Regions from separate parts of the Homo sapiens genome. Here all the other regions are linked to region 4. The links are contacts of gene promoters, found by promoter capture Hi-C in blood cells and fetal thymus (Javierre and others, 2016). All regions are on one chromosome and are shown on one strand. The core of a region is centred on a gene start or on the middle of the fragment in contact, and the rest is flanking DNA. Distances in the headings are between cores, read along the strand shown.

The links. The method cuts DNA at HindIII sites, captures the fragments that hold promoters and counts their contacts. A CHiCAGO score of 5 or more calls a contact.
Region 1: a fragment that was not itself captured here is called in contact with the fragment with the promoter of DUSP11 in region 4 in 8 of 17 cell types (fetal thymus, non-activated CD4 T cells, activated CD4 T cells and 5 more); the score reaches 16.2 in fetal thymus.
Region 2: a contact is called between a fragment that was not itself captured here and the fragment with the promoter of DUSP11 in region 4, in 3 of 17 cell types (neutrophils, fetal thymus and non-activated CD4 T cells). The highest score is 8.5, in neutrophils.
Region 3: a contact is called between a fragment that was not itself captured here and the fragment with the promoter of DUSP11 in region 4, in 1 of 17 cell types (fetal thymus). The highest score is 8.0, in fetal thymus.
Region 5: a fragment that was not itself captured here is called in contact with the fragment with the promoter of DUSP11 in region 4 in 4 of 17 cell types (neutrophils, naive CD8 T cells, total CD8 T cells and 1 more); the score reaches 7.4 in neutrophils.
Region 6: a fragment that was not itself captured here is called in contact with the fragment with the promoter of DUSP11 in region 4 in 1 of 17 cell types (naive CD8 T cells); the score reaches 6.1 in naive CD8 T cells.
Region 7: a contact is called between a fragment that was not itself captured here and the fragment with the promoter of DUSP11 in region 4, in 1 of 17 cell types (erythroblasts). The highest score is 8.1, in erythroblasts.

The regions. Positions count from the first base shown.
Region 1 is chr2:74,531,224-74,533,923 of GRCh38, reverse strand. HTRA2 (HtrA serine peptidase 2) reads right to left here. Exons shown (of 8, transcript NM_013247.5): 4 at 2,553-2,585; 5 at 2,222-2,327; 6 at 1,999-2,068; 7 at 1,210-1,305; 8 at 605-1,104. The coding sequence ends at 939. LOXL3 (lysyl oxidase like 3) reads left to right here. Exons shown (of 14, transcript NM_032603.5): 13 at 1-42; 14 at 245-1,666. The coding sequence ends at 318. Among named protein-coding and RNA genes, the nearest start is that of HTRA2, 2.6 kb to the right of the region's middle. The HindIII fragment of the contact is 295 bases long and covers 1,275-1,569 here.
Region 2 is chr2:74,403,419-74,406,118 of GRCh38, reverse strand. No RefSeq gene overlaps it. Among named protein-coding and RNA genes, the nearest start is that of C2orf81, 17 kb to the left of the region's middle. The HindIII fragment of the contact is 9,534 bases long and covers 1-2,700 here.
Region 3 is chr2:74,553,597-74,556,296 of GRCh38, reverse strand. It overlaps LOXL3 (lysyl oxidase like 3), which reads left to right and starts at 2,355. Exons shown (of 14, transcript NM_032603.5): 1 at 2,355-2,421. DOK1 (docking protein 1) reads right to left here and starts at 1,577. Exons shown (of 5, transcript NM_001381.5): 1 at 1,483-1,577; 2 at 844-1,143; 3 at 629-722; 4 at 219-403. The coding sequence starts at 1,542. RefSeq lists enhancers at 1,276-1,335, 960-1,477 and a silencer at 1,486-2,235. The HindIII fragment of the contact is 1,450 bases long and covers 683-2,132 here.
Region 4 is chr2:73,778,774-73,781,514 of GRCh38, reverse strand. It overlaps DUSP11 (dual specificity phosphatase 11), which reads left to right and starts at 1,412. Exons shown (of 9, transcript NM_003584.3): 1 at 1,412-1,641. The coding sequence starts at 1,541. RefSeq lists enhancers at 1,441-1,510, 1,591-1,640, 1,771-1,920. The HindIII fragment of the contact is 6,659 bases long and covers 1-1,744 here.
Region 5 is chr2:74,384,396-74,387,095 of GRCh38, reverse strand. It overlaps DCTN1-AS1 (DCTN1 antisense RNA 1), which reads right to left and starts at 1,593. Exons shown (of 3, transcript NR_158174.1): 1 at 1,346-1,593. It also overlaps a transcript of DCTN1 not described here. The HindIII fragment of the contact is 1,624 bases long and covers 503-2,126 here.
Region 6 is chr2:74,489,071-74,491,770 of GRCh38, reverse strand. TTC31 (tetratricopeptide repeat domain 31) reads right to left here. Exons shown (of 13, transcript NM_022492.6): 3 at 1,644-1,746; 4 at 1,298-1,527; 5 at 1,032-1,115; 6 at 587-643; 7 at 396-476; 8 at 99-290. Among named protein-coding and RNA genes, the nearest start is that of TTC31, 7.3 kb to the right of the region's middle. The HindIII fragment of the contact is 4,043 bases long and covers 1-2,700 here.
Region 7 is chr2:74,361,234-74,363,933 of GRCh38, reverse strand. It overlaps DCTN1 (dynactin subunit 1), which reads left to right. Exons shown (of 32, transcript NM_004082.5): 27 at 306-320; 28 at 507-640; 29 at 757-940; 30 at 1,205-1,284; 31 at 1,793-1,882; 32 at 2,298-2,700. The coding sequence ends at 2,435. Among named protein-coding and RNA genes, the nearest start is that of DCTN1, 18 kb to the left of the region's middle. The HindIII fragment of the contact is 2,943 bases long and covers 1-2,700 here.

The sequences.
Region 1 (2,700 bases), core at 173-2,672, 750 kb before region 4:
AATATGATGGACATAGAATCTGGGTGCACAACTGCCACATTGGTATTTGATGGGAAGAGCAACCCAGGAAGATTAGGGGATGGGAGGGAAAGACGTTCATTCTCTTTTCCATAGCTTGTTTCTCCATCTTCCCACCTTCCTGTAGAGCTCTCAGTCCCTCCACTTCTACCCACCCTTCTCCACAGTGCATCTATCTCCCTCCCTCTGTGCAGGGCGCCTCCCAAATTGCCTGTCCACTCTGCAGGTGATGCCTTCAGTGAAGAGGCCAACAGGAGGTTTGAACGCTACCCTGGCCAGACCAGCAACCAGATTATCTAAGTGCCACTGCCCTCTGCAAACCACCACTGGCCCCTAATGGCAGGGGTCTGAGGCTGCCATTACCTCAGGAGCTTACCAAGAAACCCATGTCAGCAACCGCACTCATCAGACCATGCACTATGGATGTGGAACTGTCAAGCAGAAGTTTTCACCCTCCTTCAGAGGCCAGCTGTCAGTATCTGTAGCCAAGCATGGGAATCTTTGCTCCCAGGCCCAGCACCGAGCAGAACAGACCAGAGCCCACCACACCACAAAGAGCAGCACCTGACTAACTGCCCACAAAAGATGGCAGCAGCTCATTTTCTTTAATAGGAGGTCAGGATGGTCAGCTCCAGTATCTCCCCTAAGTTTAGGGGGATACAGCTTTACCTCTAGCCTTTTGGTGGGGGAAAAGATCCAGCCCTCCCACCTCATTTTTTACTATAATATGTTGCTAGGTATAATTTTATTTTATATAAAAAGTGTTTCTGTGATTCTTCAGAGCCCAGGAGTCAGTGCTGGTGGTTGGAGGGACCTGCCCCCACTGGTTCATTTAACCCTCTGTCTCGGTGCCCTCAGAACCTCAGCCAGAAAGGCAAGGAGGAAATCAGAGCAGGAGCCTCATACTCTTGGTGATCTATTCATTCTGTGACCTCAGGGGTCACATATAAGGTCAGTGTTTCTCGTCCCCGCCGGATCTGCACTGCCAACTGGGATTGGGTTCGAACAGCTTCATAAACATCTTCAGCATTTTGTACCATCTGCTCCCCAATGGCCAAAATCACATCACCAGGCCGCAGACCAGCCCTATAGAGAAAAATGGACAGAGAGAAAGGAAGGAGTACAAAGCCTAGTTCAAGGACACATGCACACCTTGCCCATCCCCATATCACACTGCAGCCTCTCCCTCACCGGTGTGCAGGGGAGCCCAGGATGACTTTATGGATGAGTACACCATGCTGAACATCGGGAAAGCTTGGTTCTCGAAGCTGTAGTTCAGCAAGGATGCTGAAAGTACACAGATCACCCTATTAGCCAAACCCAGGCATTCTCCCCATCCTGAGTTCCACCTCAAGTCTCTCATCAACACATTGATAAATATATGGACAGGACATGGGCTAGGTACTACAAAATACAATGGCAACTCACTTTCTGTCTTCTAGCAATAAAGTGCAACATGTACATAAAAGATGTACACCACATGAGGGCACCAAATGACAAACAGTGTTAAATCAATAGCACTAATGTCATTCTAGAATACTAAGAGAAGCTTTAAGGGGAAAGAACTTAAGTTGAGCCTAAAAGGATGGATCTGATATTAACCATATAAAACAAGAACAGCATAAATAAAAAACATGGGAGTAGGAAATCAGGTTGGCTGAGTATTCATATAGGAAGGTATTACAGCCAGGTCTAGAAAGTTGATTTACAGACAGATGGAAAATGGCCCTTAAATGCCAAGTTAATGGATTGAAGGCTTGAAATCAAAGCAGTAACAGGATGAAATCAATCTGGTGACAGGTGTACAAAGTGGAGTGGGATAAGAAAGTCAAGATGATGAAGGGAGACAGCTCTTGTGATTATTTCAAGTGTGACACAGTTCATCTTAGATAAAGACAGAAATGAGAACAAAGCTCAATAGAGGTGCCCCCCTCTGATTACACTGGTCACATTACATGTCACTGTCCCTAAAGCTCATACCTGGGACTCAGGGTCAGCATCATCACCCCAATGTAGCGCCGCTGGGACCCACTGATTCCGGAGGAGGAATCTGTGACAGAGGGACAAATGAGCCCCACCCAGCTACATCCTTCCTTCCCTGCCCTCTTCTCCCAGTAGACCACCCTCCAGGAAGTCCCACTGAATGCCCTTCCCCTATTTCCACCACATTAAAGGAACCCGTTTCCCCATAAGGCAGGCTCACTCTTCTTTTCCCCACGATGCAGAAACTCTCGAAGACGATCAGAAGGGATGGCAAAGGAGATTCCAGCTGTGACCTTCATGGTGTTCACTCCAATCACCTCCCCATCCTGCAGGGATACAGCCCCCAGTTCCCTAGCCTAAACAAATAGTAGGGGATGGGGGCACCCGAACAAAAGTACCAGCAAGTGTTGGGGAGATCTGGTTGGATATTGAGAGATAGCCAACAAAGAACTGCTCAGAAACTTGACCAAACATCCTTGAATTAGGGGAAACCTACCCTTCCCACACTGACCTGGGGCAGGGATTCTTGGAAGGAAGGATGTCTCACTCACCAGGTTAACCAGGGGACCTCCAGAGTTTCCAAACTGTAGGACAAGGAGAAAACATGAAAGAGATCTGGGGATTCTAAGTCTGGGGGCATACCAGGATGTAGGTACTTTCTCCAAATTCTCTTCTTTCTCAGCCCATGAATAAGTGGCC
Region 2 (2,700 bases), core at 180-2,679, 620 kb before region 4:
CATATGCTGAGGTTTATTGTGTTGATTGTACAGTCACCACTGTTGCTGCCTTGACTACTTGGTCACTTCCTTGACTACCTCTCCTGCCTCATATTGATCTTATATCAAACAACTTTATTAAGTTATCTAGTTCTAATAAGTCGTCCATAGATTCTCTTGGTTTTTCTACATGGAAAATCACATCATCCAGGAATAATCACAGTTTTATTTCTTCCTTTGTAACTATTCCAACTTATATTTCTTTTTCTAGAAAACTTTAATAGATTTTCTAGTATTGAAACAACCTTACATTTCTGGAATAAACCCAACTTTGTAATAGTGTTACCTTTTTTATGCATTGCTAAACAGCCTGCTCATTTTTTTTAAAACTTTTTACTATGTTCATAAAGGAGATTGGCCCAAATAAATAAATAGAAAAAAGAAAAAATAGTAAAGGAGATTGGCCTGTATTTTTCCTTATTTATGTGGAAACTGCCTAGTTTTGTTGTTATGAGTACTTTTTTTTTTTTTTTTGAGACAGAGTCTCTCTCTGTCGCCCAGGGTGGAGTGCAGTGGTGCGATCTAGGCTCACTGCAACCTCCGCCTCCCGGGCTCAAGCAATTCTCCTGCCTCAGCCTCCCGAGTAGCTGGGATTACAGGCATGAGCCACCACGCCCGGCCTAGAATTTTTAATCTACATATTTAACTTAATGTCTTTAATCAATATCTTCATTCTTCTTTAAAACAATTCATAGATTTTAGAGTTCTTTAACATTAATAATTCTCTTTGAATTTATACATTTTTGTAACCCTATATTTTAATTCTACTATTTTATTAATCTCACAAATCAGATATTATTATTATTATTATTATTTTTTTTTTTTGAGACTGAGTTTCGCTCTTGTTGCCCAGGCTGGAGTGCAATGGCGCAATCTCAGCTCACTGCAACCTCCGCCTCCCAGGTTCACGCAATTCTCCTGCCTCAGTAATCCCGAGTAGCTGGGATTACAGGCATGCACCACCAGGCCTGGCTAATTTTTTTTTTTTTTTTGTATTTTTAGTAGAGACAGGGTATCTCCATGCTGAGGCTGGTCTCGAACTCCTGACCTCAGGTGATCCGCCCACCTTGGCCTCCCAAAGTGCTGGGATTACAGGTGTGAGCCACCATGCCTGGCCACAAATCAGATATTATTTTAAATAGGTGATACTTGTATAGGTTTGCTCATATGTTTAATGTTAATACTTAATATTGCTTGCTCTTCTTTCTTGTATCTCAGATCTTCCATCTTGTGTTATTTTCCTTCTACCTGAAGTACATCTTTAGAAGTTACTTTAGGCCAGGCTTAGTGGCTCATGCCTGTAATCCCACCACTTTGGGAGACTGAAGCGGGTGGATTGCTTGAGGACAGGAGTTTGAGACCAGCCTGGGCAACATGGTGAAACCCCGTCTCTCAAAAATGCAAAAATTAGCCGAGTGTGGTGGCACGTTCCTGTAGTCCCAGCTATTCAGGAGGCTGAGGTGGGAGAATCACCTGAGCCCAGGAGGTCAAGTCTGCAGTGAGCTGTGATCACGTCATTGCACTCCAGCTTAGGTGACAGAGTGAGACCCTCTCTTTCTCTCTCAAAAGAAAGTTACTTTAGTGAGGATTTGTGGTAGACAGAATTCTAAGATGGCCTCCAAAGTTCTCATCTTTTGTTTATGTACCCTATAAAATCCCCCTTCCCCTTAAGTCTGAGCAGAACTCGTGAATATGATGGGATTTCTCTCCTGTGATTACGTTATTTACCTGACATAAGGGATTTTTCTGATGTAGTTAAAGTCTCTAATCAGTTAATCAAATTGGTGATTATTTTGGGTGGACCTGACTTAATGAAGTGAGCCCTTTAAAAGGCTTCAAGCCTTTACAGAAGTTAGAAAGATTCTCTCCTTTACCTTAAAGAAGCAAATTGCTACACTGTGGAGAGGGCCACATGGCAGGGATGGCAGATGGCCTCTGGGAGCCAGGCCTCAGTTCTATAGTCACAACAAATTGAATTCTGCCAATAACCAGTGAGCTTGAAAGAGGACCCTGAACTTCAATGAGCTTTCAACCCTGGATGACTTCTTGATTTCAGCCTGGTGACCTCCTGAGTGGAGGACCCAGCAAACATGTACCCAGACTCCCGACCCACAGAAACTGTGAGATAATAAATGTGTTTTTTTAAAAAATAAACATATTTATTATATTTTTTAGAGACAGGCTCTCTCTCTGTCACCCAAGCTGGAATGCAGTGGCACTATCACAGCTCACAGCAACCTCACACTCCTGGCTCAAGCAATCCTTCTGCCTCTCTGCCTCCCAAGTAACTGGGACTACAGGAGCATGCCACCACTCTGGCTAATTATTATTTTTTATTTTTTATTTTTTCAGAGGTAATCGAGTTAGAATTAAATTTTTTTTTCTTTTATAGAGATGGGGATTCTTGTTATGTTGCCCAGGCTGGTCTCAAATTGCTGGCCTCACAGGATCCTCTTGCCTTGGCCTCCAAAGTGGTGGGATCACAGGCATGAGCCATCATGCCTGACCTATGTTGCTTCACCCACTGAATTTATAGTAATTTGTTATGTAGCAATAGAAAACTAATATAAGATCTAATATAATAAACTTCCTCAGTTTTATTTGTTGGAGGATGTATTTATTTCACCTTAATGTTGGGGTATCAGTTTGCTACTGGCTAAG
Region 3 (2,700 bases), core at 158-2,657, 770 kb before region 4:
AGAGGGGGAAACACATTACCAGGAGCCATCAGAGGAAGTGAGTCACACGCCTGCACTAGTTAGGGTATCTACAAAGAAGAGACCACCTGCGAACAGACGCGGGGTCACCGGGTAGGCAAGAAAGGGGGATCCAAAGGTCAGAGCTTCCCACTTTCTGTCCTGCCCCACCCCTCCCACAGCTGCCCAACCCAGGAAGCCCTCCCGGACAGCCCCTGCACCTTGTCCCGGCCATAGCGACGCAACAGAGTGTAGGGCCAGGACAGGAGTGGCTCCAGTATCTGACTCTGGGCCCCCACGGTCAGGAGAGTCAGCCTTTCAGCCTCCACCCTCAGCACGTAGGAGCCATGCAGGCCACAGCGCTCGGCGGCCTCAGTCCTCTGCACCGTTACCCAGAATTGGGATCCTGGAAGGCATACACGATTAGACAGCTGCGGGGGAGGGACGGGGGCAGCAGTGGGGACCCAGAGGACTCATGAGCATAGTGTCCAAGCACTCACTCGGAAGCCAGATCTCAGGGCCTTCCTACTTCTTACTTCCCCATGGGCCCCTGGGTATCCACCCACTTCCCAAAGGCCCTCGGCCCTCCTCCTCTTCACTCCATCCCTGCCCGGGCTTCTGAGGCGTCTACCTTCCCAGGTAGGGCTGTACAAGGAGTTCTCCAGCATCTCCAGGGCAGAAAGCTTAGGTGGGTTATCGGTAGGCGCCAGAGTCCAGCTGCCTTTCTGTAGTAGAGAGCATCGAGAAACCCGTAATTTCCTCAGCGGGGAGCGGGGGTCGGTCTGAGGCAGCCCCATTTCTCTGCCTCTGTAACTGCCCCCACCCCGCATCGCCGCAGCTCCTCACCGGAAAGGCGTTTCGGCACAGCGTCTGCACCCAGGCTGCACTGGACGGCGCGTCGGCCGCCAGCAGGTGCGAGCGCTGAGCAGTGTCCAGGCGGAAGGCAGTGGCGCCGGGCTCAGGGGGGGTCTCCACGGTGACGGGGGCCACACTCACACACTCAGCCAGACGGATCACTTTGCAGTCCAGGCGGCGCGAGCTCCCTCGGCCACCCCCAGAGCTCGACCCCTTATGGTCAAAGAACTCGAGCCGCGCTACGCCGTGGGGACTGGCCGGGTAGAGCACGGCCCAGGTCTTCCTCCACCTCTAGGGAGAGAGAGAGAGTGCTCGAGAGGGAGTGGCGTGCGCAGGCGGCCCGGGTCCCGACGGGGAAGGAGGTTGCGGCGCAAGTCGATTTGGGATCTGGGGCTTCCAAACGGGGTTGGGGGCGAAGTTTCCCAAGGACGATGCCACTCCGTCTCCCCAGGACCAGAACCCCTAGACTACAGACGCTTCCCGGGAGTGTGCAAAGCAACTTCACGGGAAAGTCACAGGCTCTCCAACTCCCGGCGCCGCTCTCCAGCCCGCTGCCCACCTCTCCCTGTTTCTGGGCTCTCTCACCCACTACTAGCCCGGATAAGGTTCGGCATCCATGCGCCAGACTACCTTGGTCCCAAAGCGCTGACTCTGCAAAAAAAGCGGCCCTTCCATCACTGCTCCGTCCATGGCCCCCGGCGGTTCCTTCCGCGCTTCCTGGCCCTGCGGCGGGAGGCGGGGCGGGAGGCGGGGCCGGGTTCCCTGGAGGAGTTTCCGCCCCTCCCCGGCCCCCGCCGGCAGCCGCTGGGGGGGTCGCGGTGGGGTGAGGGAGAGGAGCGAGAAGGAATGGTGGAGACCCCCGGATTAGCCGGGAGCTGCAGCACCCCAGGCCCCTACCCGCCGTCGTGGGGGCGCGCCAGTGGCTCCACCGAAAGTCCTCGGTTTTGGCGCGAGGGCCCTGGCCTCTGGGCGTGGTGGCTGCGCGTGACGTCATATGCCCAAGGTGACGTCAGAGTGAAAGCCATGACATCACCCCGAAAGCGCCCCGGGCACCGGAGAGACCCACACGGGCCTCCGGGGCTTTATTTACCCTGGCCGGGCCCGCCCCCAGCCCCGCCCGAGCCGGGCTGTTTAGACTCCGCTGGCCCGGGACTCGGAGGGAGGGCTGGGGTTGAACCGCTTCCCGCCACCACCGGGGCCGCCCCGCCGCCCGGCCGCCGCTTGCATGTCAGCTCCCTGACCGCAGAGGCCTGGCCTCCATGCCGCGGGAAGAGAAAGCTTCATTGAACGAGCCGGGAGGGCCAGGGAGGGGGAGGGGGCGCGGCAGTGGCCAGCTCCACGGGGAGGGAGGACCCAGAGGAGGAGAGGAGGGAACTGGCCGGGAGGAATGGAAGGAGAAGGCGGAATGTGGGAGGGCTCAGGGGGATGTGGGAGGGACGAACGGAGAAGGGGGAGAGAGGGGGGTCCAGTCTCCCCTGGCCGAGCATTTTTTTTTTTTTTTGGAAGTCCTAGGACTGATCTCCAGGACCAGCACTCTTCTCCCAGCCCTTAGGGTCCTGCTCGGCCAAGGTAGGGGGAGTCACGCTAACCGCAGAGGGAATGAGTAGGGGATGGAGAGGATGTGGAGGGACCAGGGAAAACGGGTGGTGTGGGATGGAGTCGAGGGGAAGCCACCCAACTGAGAGTTTGATTCTTGTCAAAGGGCAAGTGAGACAGAGTACACGGAGGAGGCACATACCGGAGGCGGGGGCTACGGGTGTTCGAACAGGGCCGCCAGGAGCGCCCTAAGGGAGGGGGCTCCTCCGGGAGGCGCTGCCCCTGGGTCCCCAACCCAGAACAAAGCTGCCT
Region 4 (2,741 bases), core at 163-2,662:
CAGTCTAGCTTTATTAATATTCATTTATTCAATAGCTCTGACCTTTCTTATCCTTGGTTTACCCAGCTCTGAAATGGTTGCAAAGATTACTAAAAATATATGTAAGTTACTTTCATAAATTAGAAACTAAGAAGTAAAAATTACTTTCAAAAATCTGCCATTGGCCAGGTGCGGTGGCTCAAGCCTGTAATCCCAGCACTTTCGGAGGTCGAGGAGTGCTGATCATGAGGTCAAGACATCGAGACCATCCTGGCCAACATGGAGAAACCCTGTCTCTACTAAAATACAAAAAATTGGCTGGGAGTCGTGGCATGCACCTGTAGTCCCAGCTACTCAGGAGGTTGAGGCAGGGAGAATTGCTTGAACCCGGGAGGCGGAGGTTGCAGTGAGCTGAGATGGCACCACTGCACTCCAGCCTGGTGGCAGAGTGAGACTGGGTCTCAAAAAAAAAAAAAAAAAGTCTGCAATCATAATTACTTACAGTTTAATCTGGAATTTAGTACTCTATTCTATTTTCAAAGCTGCTATAGGGTATGCTGTCCTTTGTAGTTCCACTTTTAGCAGAATTGAACGTTTTTCTAACGGGTACAGATCTTTATGCTTGAGACTGTGTGGAAACCTTGGACTTGAGCTCCACTCTCAGTTATTTTTTGTATTTGCTAAAACTTAAATACATTCTGTCCACCTCTAGCATGATACCTGGTATGTGATAGGAACCCAATAAAAGTTTGGCTTTGATGGGAGTGTATGTTTCTACATTATTTTTGGAGGGTAATTAGGTAGTATCTTTCCAAATTTTAAGTTTGTATGTGTTTCATTCCAGACATTCTACTTCTAGGAATTTAGATATAGTTGTATATATGTATAAGGATGTTCACATTGCAGCATTGTCTGTAACAAGATTTGAAAAGAACCTGAAAACAACTAAAGGTCCATTAATATTGAACTGGCTAAATACGTTATGGTACTTTTAATTATGTTACTCATAAGCAAGTAAATTGCCTATAGCCATTAAAAATAGAATCTATGTATGCATAAATTGACTGGGATAATCAGTGTTTAAGGTATACTGTAGAATATGTACAGTTACTCCTTTTGTATAAAAATAGAGGATATACATATATGTGAAAGTAAATATGTATACAAAATATGCAAAATGTGAATGTAAGCGCTGGTAAATATCTAGAAGAACACACAAGGAACCGGGGCGTGGGGCGGATCGGGCAGAGGGACTTCCCTGTGCCTCACTGTTTGAATTCTGAAGGGTGCATACACGCCCTTATTGACCTGTGCTACTGGCCTCTGGCTAAAGAGGGCGCTGTAGCCACCAAAGTCCTGTTTACAGATCAGGAGTCTCAGTAAGCCAGCGTGGCTACGCCATCACGACCGGCGGTGGCACATGCGCAATAGCGAGACGCTGGAGCGCGGCGTAGGTGGCTGCCGAGTCTTTTCCTGTTTAGGGTCTTATCCTGGCATTGAGGGCGCCGGACTGGCGCTTTTGGCCGACTTGGCATTGGGTGGGCGGCTTCTTGGGACCCACATGAGCCAGTGGCATCATCCCCGCAGTGGCTGGGGCCGGAGACGCGACTTTTCAGGACGCTCCTCAGCCAAGAAGAAGGGCGGAAACCACATCCCCGAAAGGTAGTATGTCTTGGTCCCTTGGCGTGGCCTTTCCAGCTCGTGGCTTCTGGGTCTGGGCTTCATCGTTTGTGGTCTCTGCCTCTCGCCGTTGCCATCGCAAGCTTGACTTGTCCGCCGCTTGCTTTGAGGCTTTGACCCTCTGCGCCACCCGCTGTAGCTGAAAGGGGCGATGTCTGTGATGTCCTGTGATTTCTCCATATTCTTGTAAAAGGGAGGTTCTGGCCATTGCTCTTAGGTAAAATACGGAAGGATTGCTTTAAGGTGGGACTGTTACTGTTGGGGACACTCCTTAATTCCCAAAATGGAACCTCCTCAATTCCTTGTTACGTTGGCACGGAAAGTGTAATGGTTTGAGTTAGGAACCCAGCAGTAGTAGCGCCCTGAGATCTCACATGGAAAGTTGGTTTGTATTGTTTCCAGAAATCACAAAGAGCATACTTTGTTACTTCCTAACAGGCCTCATTTGAAAGATAACTCCTTTATACGTACAAATGATTAATTTTGAGACTTTGCACGTAGGTGCATTGAACTGTTTTTACTCCTTGAGACCATCCTCCACCATCTCATACCTCAATAAATCCTCTTCATTTTATCTACTATCTTTTGACTGTCACTTTCTGTCAGTACCCTAATACAGGTCTTGCCTGACTTATTGCAGTGGGGTTCTAATTAGTGAATCTCCTGTTTGTTTTCTTCCAATCCGTTTTTTTGTTTTTGTTTTTGGGATGGATTTTTGCTCTTCTCCGCCAGGCTGGAGTGCAATGGTCCAATCTCGGCTCACTGCAACCTCCGCCTCCCGGATTCAAGCGATTCTCCTCCCTCAGCCGCCCAAGTTGCTGGGATTACAGGCGCCCGCCACCACACCCGGCTAATTTTTTTTGTATTTTTAGTAGAGATGGGGTTTCACCATGTGGGTCAGGCTGGTCTCGAACTCCTGACCTCAGGTGATCCACCTGCCTCAGCCTCCCAAATTGCCGGGATTAACAGACGTGAGCCACCGCGCCCGGCCAGTTCCTAGCATTATTAAGTGAAGTTCACAGTCCCTCTTCTAGCAGGTTTTCTCTTAAAATATGAACTTGAAGTTTCCTACTAATTGAACT
Region 5 (2,700 bases), core at 65-2,564, 610 kb before region 4:
GGTAGGGATGGAGCCAGATAGCAATGGATCGAGAAGTAGATGGGAAGTGAAGATAGAGAATGTGTACTCACTTTGAGTAGTTCAGCAGAGAAAGGAAGAATACAGAATGGTGGCAGCTTGTGGAAGAGGTAGCAGGGACTTGTTTTTCCTAGAATGGAAGTCTTGTTTATGGGTTTTCTGATGCCATGTAAGATCCAGTAGACAGGGTGCAATGAAGACACAAGAGAAAAGACGATTGCTAAATCAAGTCCTCAGAGGAGAGGGGAAGGGGTGGGCCCTGAAAAGAAGGGGATACCATTTTCTTTAAAGAGGAATGTTGGAAGAAAGGAAGGAATTTAGGAAGAAAGAGATAATGACATATGCATGCAGATATATCTAAATTTTCAAAGAAATTCTTACCTAATAGGGCCAGTTTTCTTTTTCAGCAAGGTTATCTGCTGAGAGGTGGGAATGCTGGTGTTGGCTTGGGTGGGAGTAAGGACTTGAAAATGTAAAGGAAGCTTGAAATAACTGTTAAGAGGAAAGAGGAAGACAGTGGAACTGAAATAAGCTCCAAGAGTGTTGAGTACCCTCTGAACTGAAATCCTACACTATAAGCCTCCCCTTCATCTTTCTCATAATAATAATGGCTGACATTTATTGAGTGCTTTATACAAGGCACTGTTCTAAGTGCTTTTCAGGCATTCTCATGTGATTTTTACAACAATCCTGTTAGAAAGTTATTGTTATTATCCCTTTCTTCCAGAAGAGGAAATTGAGGCATAGAGGATTAGTAGCGCTTGTATTTGATGAATCTCTTACGTCTGCAGAAATGGATTCCTTTTCCTGAGGCATCAGAGAAGACAGAAATTTAATCCCAACTCCCGGTTTCTGAACCTTGAGAGCCTAGAGTCTAGGGTTGCTAAGGAGGGAATCTTACCATGCCAGTTTGTGGGCATGATGGTGGCATGGAGGGGGCAGGACAGTGGGATCACTGTTGCTGTCAGCTTTTGACAACTACATAGGGAAACTCGGATATTCTTGAGTGATTTTTCCAGCATCCTGACTAGAAAGACAAGTGACCGATAGTGATTTGTCAGGTATTGTGGGCTGAGATTGTGTCATCTGAGAGGTGAATAAGAAGAGAGACCTTGTCCCTGTTCCTATCACCTAGAAAAGGAGAATTTTTTCTTGGCAGAGAGACAGGCAGATCTAAAACCTTATATAATAACATAATGATTATTAACTCACCTTATGTGTTTTCTCAGTTTGTGTGACAGATACAATTTGTAGGTAAGCTGTATACCTGACTTGAGTGAAAGGAGAGAGTGATGGGATGGCGTGGATGGAAGAGAAACGGACTTACCTTTTCCTGCTGCAGCCACTGAAGCATCATCTCTGTGTCCTTCCTTTTGAGGTTGCCATGGATACGCCTTTGCATGGTGGTTTGAGGAGATTGATTTCCATTATGATCAGATGATGACGTGGGTTTAAAAAGAGAAAGGATGGAATGCTCTGCTTTTGGGGAGTGGCCGGCGAGCTGCCCAAAAGGCAGAGCCCAGTACAGCCGATAGGGCTGTGGCTTTGTTGGCTGCTTTGGCTTTTGCTGAAGTTGTGAAATGGTGCATCTCTCTCTTTAGAGCGCAGGCTCAGGGTTCCCTGTCTACAGGGTCCTAGTGCCAGGAACTTGCTGGTTGATTCAGGGGGAGGAATCAGCAGGAACTTCGAACAGCCTAAGTAGGACTTCTGATACCACTGAGAGGATTGAGGTTCTTGAGTGCAGGGCTGAGTGCCTCTTGCCTTCTTGCAGAAGTTCCTATATTGAAGATAAGTGAAGCATATAGCATAGCTTTTCTTCTTGACTTTTAGAGGTCTGGGCCCTTGGAGGTGGGCCTGGAAGTCACTGGATATTTCTGGGGAAAGGGGACATTTTGAGATGGAGTAGAGCTGCATTCAGAGTGGGAGTGGGTTTGTAGACGTTTTTTTAGGGTAATGAGGAGCTGGAGAAGGGAAGGAAGTCCGTTGAGTGTGTAGGCCTTATCTATGAAATCCGCAAGGCAGATACTGAGTAGGACCTAGGAACAAAAAGCTCTGTGTACGTTGTCTTCTGGGGTCCTGTGAATATCTGGAATCCAGCTTTCCAAGCTTCCAGTCTCCCAGCCTCCATTTACCACTCAGTAAGCAGACCTTTTCCTTTCTGACTCCTGAAGGACTTAGGTCCACGTTTATCTCTTCCTTACTAGTGCTTTCAGAGATGTATAGTTTTGCCTTGCTGTCAGACTGCCTGGGTTTCAGACAAGCTCCTCTAGGAGTGGGAAAGCAGGGAAAGCAGACAGTTGGGTTAGCCCAGGATCAAGGTTTGATAAGGTGAGACAAGAGGAGATCAAGGTATCAAAGGATGCTGGGGTGCCAGTAAAAACAAGGTAGAAATGGTTCAGACAGGGGAGAAATGGTAGAGGTGGAAAAGAGGCTTTTCCTCCTCACTTTCTCCTTTTTCATTCTCCAAAATCTTATTTTCCTATAATTTCCTGAAATTTCTCTAAGACTATTGGCAGACACAGAGATTATTATTTATCAGACACAGAGATTTTTCCCCTCCTCTCTTCTCATTTTTCTAGATATTTTAGTGGTATTTAATATCATTGGAGAGGAAAATGGATTAGAAATCCAAGAGGTGTCTGTCTCCTCCCTGGCTGGGGTAACATTAACCCAGGATTGTCC
Region 6 (2,700 bases), core at 19-2,518, 710 kb before region 4:
ACTGGACCCTGTGTCAATCCTTAGACCCTGTGCCTCCCCAGCAGCTCCTTGTGCCCCTTCCACGGTTCCAGCTGAATAAGGTTCTTCAGCCACCTCACCTGTACCTTTGGACTCTGCTGGGGCCTCTCCTCTCTTGGAGGGCTCTCTTCCTCTTGACCCATCTTCTGGAGGGCCAGACCCCTGCCTTGGGGCTCCTGGTTCAGTCCCTTCTCTCTGCGGGCACTGAGGGGCCAATCCCCAACCTTGCGCAAAGCCAGAGACACAAAAGTGCTAGATAGATCCAGTGAGTCCTGTGAACAAAATGGAAAGTTAGGGAGGGGGTGGGGATGAAGTACATTCTGGAGGAGGAGGAGGAAAATGAGCAGAGACCAAGAAGGGAAAAAAGGGGCTCTCACCTCTTCTTCACCACACTGTCCCTGAACTGGGTTTCCAGGGCTGGATGGGGGGCTCTCATCTCCATCTGAGGTAGTGCTGGCCTGGAAGAAAGATAGACAGGTACAGAGTTGGGATCACCTTGAGCTGCCTGCTTTCTTGGCCCTCACCTTCCTGGCACTTGGTGCTCTTAGTACCTGCCCTAGATACTCACCTTGGGCTCCCCACAGTACTGCTCCAAACGCTCCTGTCGCTTCCGTTCCTTTTGACGCTGCAATAGTAATGGTAACAATGATGTATTTTGAACACTTACTGTATGTCGTGTGCTGGGCTAAGATTTCGCATTCCATCTTTGCAGCTCTATGAGACAGGCATCATTATTATCCTCATTTTGCAGGTGAAAAAGCAGACAAGAGAGGCACCAGCAAGAGGCCTCATGTAAGGAGGCAGATTCCTACCTAGGCAGCACAGTAGGATTCCAGAACCACTGCACCAGATGGCCTGTGAGAGACCCCCCAGTCCCTGGGCCCCTTGTGTCCTCCTGGCAAGAGAGTCCACTGCAGGCCATCTTGAGCTCTCTCCTGTTCCCACAAAGTTTCCTCTTTCCCTCTCCCAAATCCCTTTGGCTCCCCTGCACCCTCCAGCCATGCTCTAGCCACCTTCTTCTTGAGTCGCTTTTTCTCTGCTTTCTGTTTCATGCGCTCCTCCTCAGCCACCAGCTCCTCAGCCAGGCGATTGGCTTCCTGAAGGACGAAGGGCAGGTGACAGAAAAAGAGAGAAACAGGGAAATGGAGAGCAAACATGAAAGGGGGCAGGCAGTATAGAAGGATCTTGAAAGGTACCAATTAGGGGAGAATATAGGGATGGGGATACAGGGATTGAAAGAACCCTGGGGGACGGCAAAGCCCTCTCCTGAGAATCTCACCTCTTCTGTCACCAGGAGCTTCTGGGGCATGGCCACCTGAAGCAGGCTGTCTGAGACACTGGGGAAGGTGGCAGAGGCAGAGGGGCTTTGAGGGCAGGGCTCAGACTCTTGGGGAGGATACAGGAAGGACTTGCGGAGACCACAGTAGGTGCCCAGTCCCTCAGCCCCCTTGCCCCTGTCACTCTGTCCAGTTGATTTCCCTTCATCATCCAAGTGGCCCAGGAGGTAATCTGTCAGGAGGGAGAAAGAGACAGGAAAGAAAGGACATGAGAGCGGGGTGCATCTGAGGGTCAGCCCTCCCAGGGTACCAGCCTCGATCCCTGGGCCCGGTCCCTGCACTCCCCACCATGGTGCCACAGCTGCAGCCGCCCGCTGCTCCCATCCACATGGATCCGGTGCAGGCCCTGGGGATCACTCTCCACAAGCCGTCGAAGAAAATCCACTATGTCCTGGGAGGGGAGGGGAGGGGAGGGGAGGCTGGTGTTGGGGGCAGTTCCTGGAGAGAGCAAGGGCTTCGCTGGCTTGATCTCTCCACCATGGCAGCCACCAACCAGCTATCCAGCCCAGAGACTCTCACTGGCTCTGACCTCTCCCTCCTCAGCACCGCAAAATCTGCTGCCCCCAGCTATTGTAGTGAATCACCTCCCCTCGCTGCTTTCCTGCCTTCCCAAGGGTTGAGTATGGTATTCAACCTGGCCTCCTCTACCATCCAGGATCTTCTCTCCTCAACCTGAGTTAGCCACACTGAGGCCCCTGGAATGAAGCCCTCCCACCTGCTCTTCCAGCTAGGCCCCCTGTCATATCTGCAGTATGAACAGCTCCACATAACCCACCCTGAGGCTAGCTCACACCTAAACAAGTACAGCAGCTCCTGGCTGGCCGCTCCTCTGCACCTCATCTGTTTCTCCACAAAACTAAGCTCTAAGAAATTACTTCCCTACTCAGGGACATCCAATAATCCCCCACTGCCAAGGCCATAGGCAGAGTTGAACCTAATTCCTCAGCCTACGATTCAGAGCCTTCCAAAAGGCTCCCAGGCTGACCTTTCCAGCCCTCCTTTTAATCCTCCCCTGCTTCACTGCTGTCCTCCCTCCCACCACCAGGCTCCCTCCAGCCTTGGGGCCTTCCCCCAGCTGCTCTCCAATCCCTCCTAACTCTTGAGCTTCTTTCTCACATCTTGCCTCACCTTCAAGGTCCAGTTCAAATTCTATCTCCCTTCAAAGCCTTCCCAGACCCTTTCATCTCCAATTATCTCTGCCTCCTCCAACTAACCTGCAACCACATTATCTGTGTTACACAATTTAGAAACTTGTTATTGATTGCTTTCTATTGCTCTCCTCATTGGCCAGGCAGCATGGAATTCCAAAGGGCATTGTGCTGGAGTGGAGCCACTTGCATCTGAG
Region 7 (2,700 bases), core at 139-2,638, 580 kb before region 4:
CAGGGAGGCAGGAACAGCCTCATGTTCCAAGTACTTTGTACAGTGCACACTCTCTTTGCCACTGTTCTTCACACATTGTACCCTGTCTTGTGGCCTCACTCCTGTTTGGTGTCTTTCTTTAACACTTATCTGCTCGTCCCCAAAGATAGGTGGCAGAGAGTCTTGTTAGAGAAAGTATGATGATTAGGAAAAGGGTTTTCCTGCAGGTTGTGTCCAGGATTCCTCTGGTGTGTCCCCGTAACCCCCAAATCACCTAACTCCTCTCTCCTCTTTTCCTGCTCCCCCATGGGCTATCCCGAGCACAGAAGAACAGCAGCGAGGTAGAGACCCACTCTGGCCGGGGGTTACCAGGCTGGTGGGAGTTGGAGCTAAGGGAGCAGGGTGGAGGGGGAAGCCAGGACTGGAGATGGGTGATGGGGGGATGAGGAAAGGGGAAGAGTAGGAATGGAGCCCAATTTTCAACCCTTTCCACTTGGGGCTGATGAGATTTTTTATGGTCCCCACAGGAGCCATCCCTGGGCAGGCTCCAGGGTCTGTGCCAGGCCCAGGGCTGGTGAAGGACTCACCACTGCTGCTTCAGCAGATCTCTGCCATGAGGCTGCACATCTCCCAGCTCCAGCATGAGAACAGCATCCTCAAGGTGAGGGAGCCACGGGGAGGACTGGGATGGGAGATGGAGCATATTTGCCCCATTGATGATAGATGACAGGGGCCTCCTAGCACCTCTTACCACTATCCTTCTTTTTTCATCCACAGGGAGCCCAGATGAAGGCATCCTTGGCATCCCTGCCCCCTCTGCATGTTGCAAAGCTATCCCATGAGGGCCCTGGCAGTGAGTTACCAGCTGGAGCGCTGTATCGTAAGACCAGCCAGCTGCTGGAGACATTGAATCAATTGAGCACACACACGCACGTAGTAGACATCACTCGCACCAGCCCTGGTATGTACCTGCCAACCCCCAAGATGAATAAAACTGCCCCCTCCACTTGGCCCAGGGATTTAGCCCCTGCTCAGGTGGTTCCCCCACCACAGAAGCTCTTCCCAGCAGTGTTCTTTGGCTTCACTGTTCAGTTTGTTTGATTCACCCACTCTCTCTCAAGTACTTGTTCTGTTAGAGAGTCTTATACCTGCACCCCTAACCCTTAATCCAGTAGAACTGCCTGCCTGCGCCTTGGTGGGCCTCACCAGCTTTCTCTCCCCACAGCTGCCAAGAGCCCGTCGGCCCAACTTATGGAGCAAGTGGCTCAGCTTAAGTCCCTGAGTGACACCGTCGAGAAGCTCAAGGTCAGCTCAGTTTGCCAGGCAGAGCTCACTTCACAGCATAAACTGGTGGAGCCAGGCACTTGTGGAGTTCCTCTGAGCCCAGCCCTGTGCTAGACAGCAATTGGGGAGGAGATGGAAGGGAAGGCAGGGTTCTTGCCTTGGAAGCTCACTGTCTCAGTGCAAACAGAAGACAGATTCTCATAACAAAATGGATAAGCTAGGGTAATCTTTAGAGTGACTGGTTCAGGCTTTAGCTTCCATCAGCGCTGAGATCATTGTGGGGTAGAACGGTTGGGCATGGCTTCCCAAGAGCGGTAGAATGTGAGTTGGGCCTTACAGGATGAGGACTTGCAAAGTAAGGAGGAGTGCTGGTGTGGGGATGGGGTTGGAGATGAGAGCAAAAGTATGTTGATATAGAGGACTAAGTCCCTGCCCCCCTGGTATTAGTGTCTCTGTGAAACCACGTGGTCTTGTGCTAGCCTGTGGGGGTCCCATAAATGAACCCTTGTCTTCCTCTCCCCTTCCCTAGGATGAGGTCCTCAAGGAGACAGTATCTCAGCGCCCTGGAGCCACAGTACCCACTGACTTTGCCACCTTCCCTTCATCAGCCTTCCTCAGGGTGAGGGGGAGCATGGGGTGGAGGATGGGACAGTGTGGAGAGCTCAGGCGGGCCCCCCTCTCCTCCAGAATTGGAGGAGGCCTTTGGAGTCTCAGGTCTAACAACTGCATACCTTGGGTTATCTGGCCAAATTTTACTTACAAGTAACTCAGAAGTGCTTACAGTGCTTTGAAATTCCAATATTTTAGCACCTAAACACCTTCCGTGACTTTTGACACCAGGAGGGCCTCAAAACTCCCTTGTCAGATTATGTATCCCCATTCTTATTTGAAAAATGTGGTCACAATAGCCCAGGATCTCAGAAGCCCTAGTCACCCAGGAGCTGCCTTGGTCTCAGTGCTCAGGGACCCCTTCAGTGGCCCACAGCTCAAGTGAGCCCCTGACCTGGAGTCTTTTTCTCCTCATCAACCACCAGGCCAAGGAGGAGCAGCAGGATGACACAGTCTACATGGGCAAAGTGACCTTCTCATGTGCGGCTGGTTTTGGACAGCGACACCGGCTGGTGCTGACCCAGGAGCAGCTGCACCAGCTTCACAGTCGCCTCATCTCCTAAGCACTCCTTTCCCCTGCTGTCCCCTTCGACCCTCAGCCCTCTGGTGCCGCTCTGCCCGATGCACAGCCACCTCAGCCAGCCCCCAGGTAGAAACGTGGGTTAAGCTCTTCCTGCCCCGTTCAGCTTCACTCCCACCCTTTCAGCGTCCTGCCCCTTCACCTTGACCCGGGTTCCCCCACTCCCATTCCCTGGCCTCTGCCATAATTTGTTGTTCAACTGCTCCCTCCTTCCTGAGGGGCCTCAGGGCTTGTGGGGGGTAGGCTGA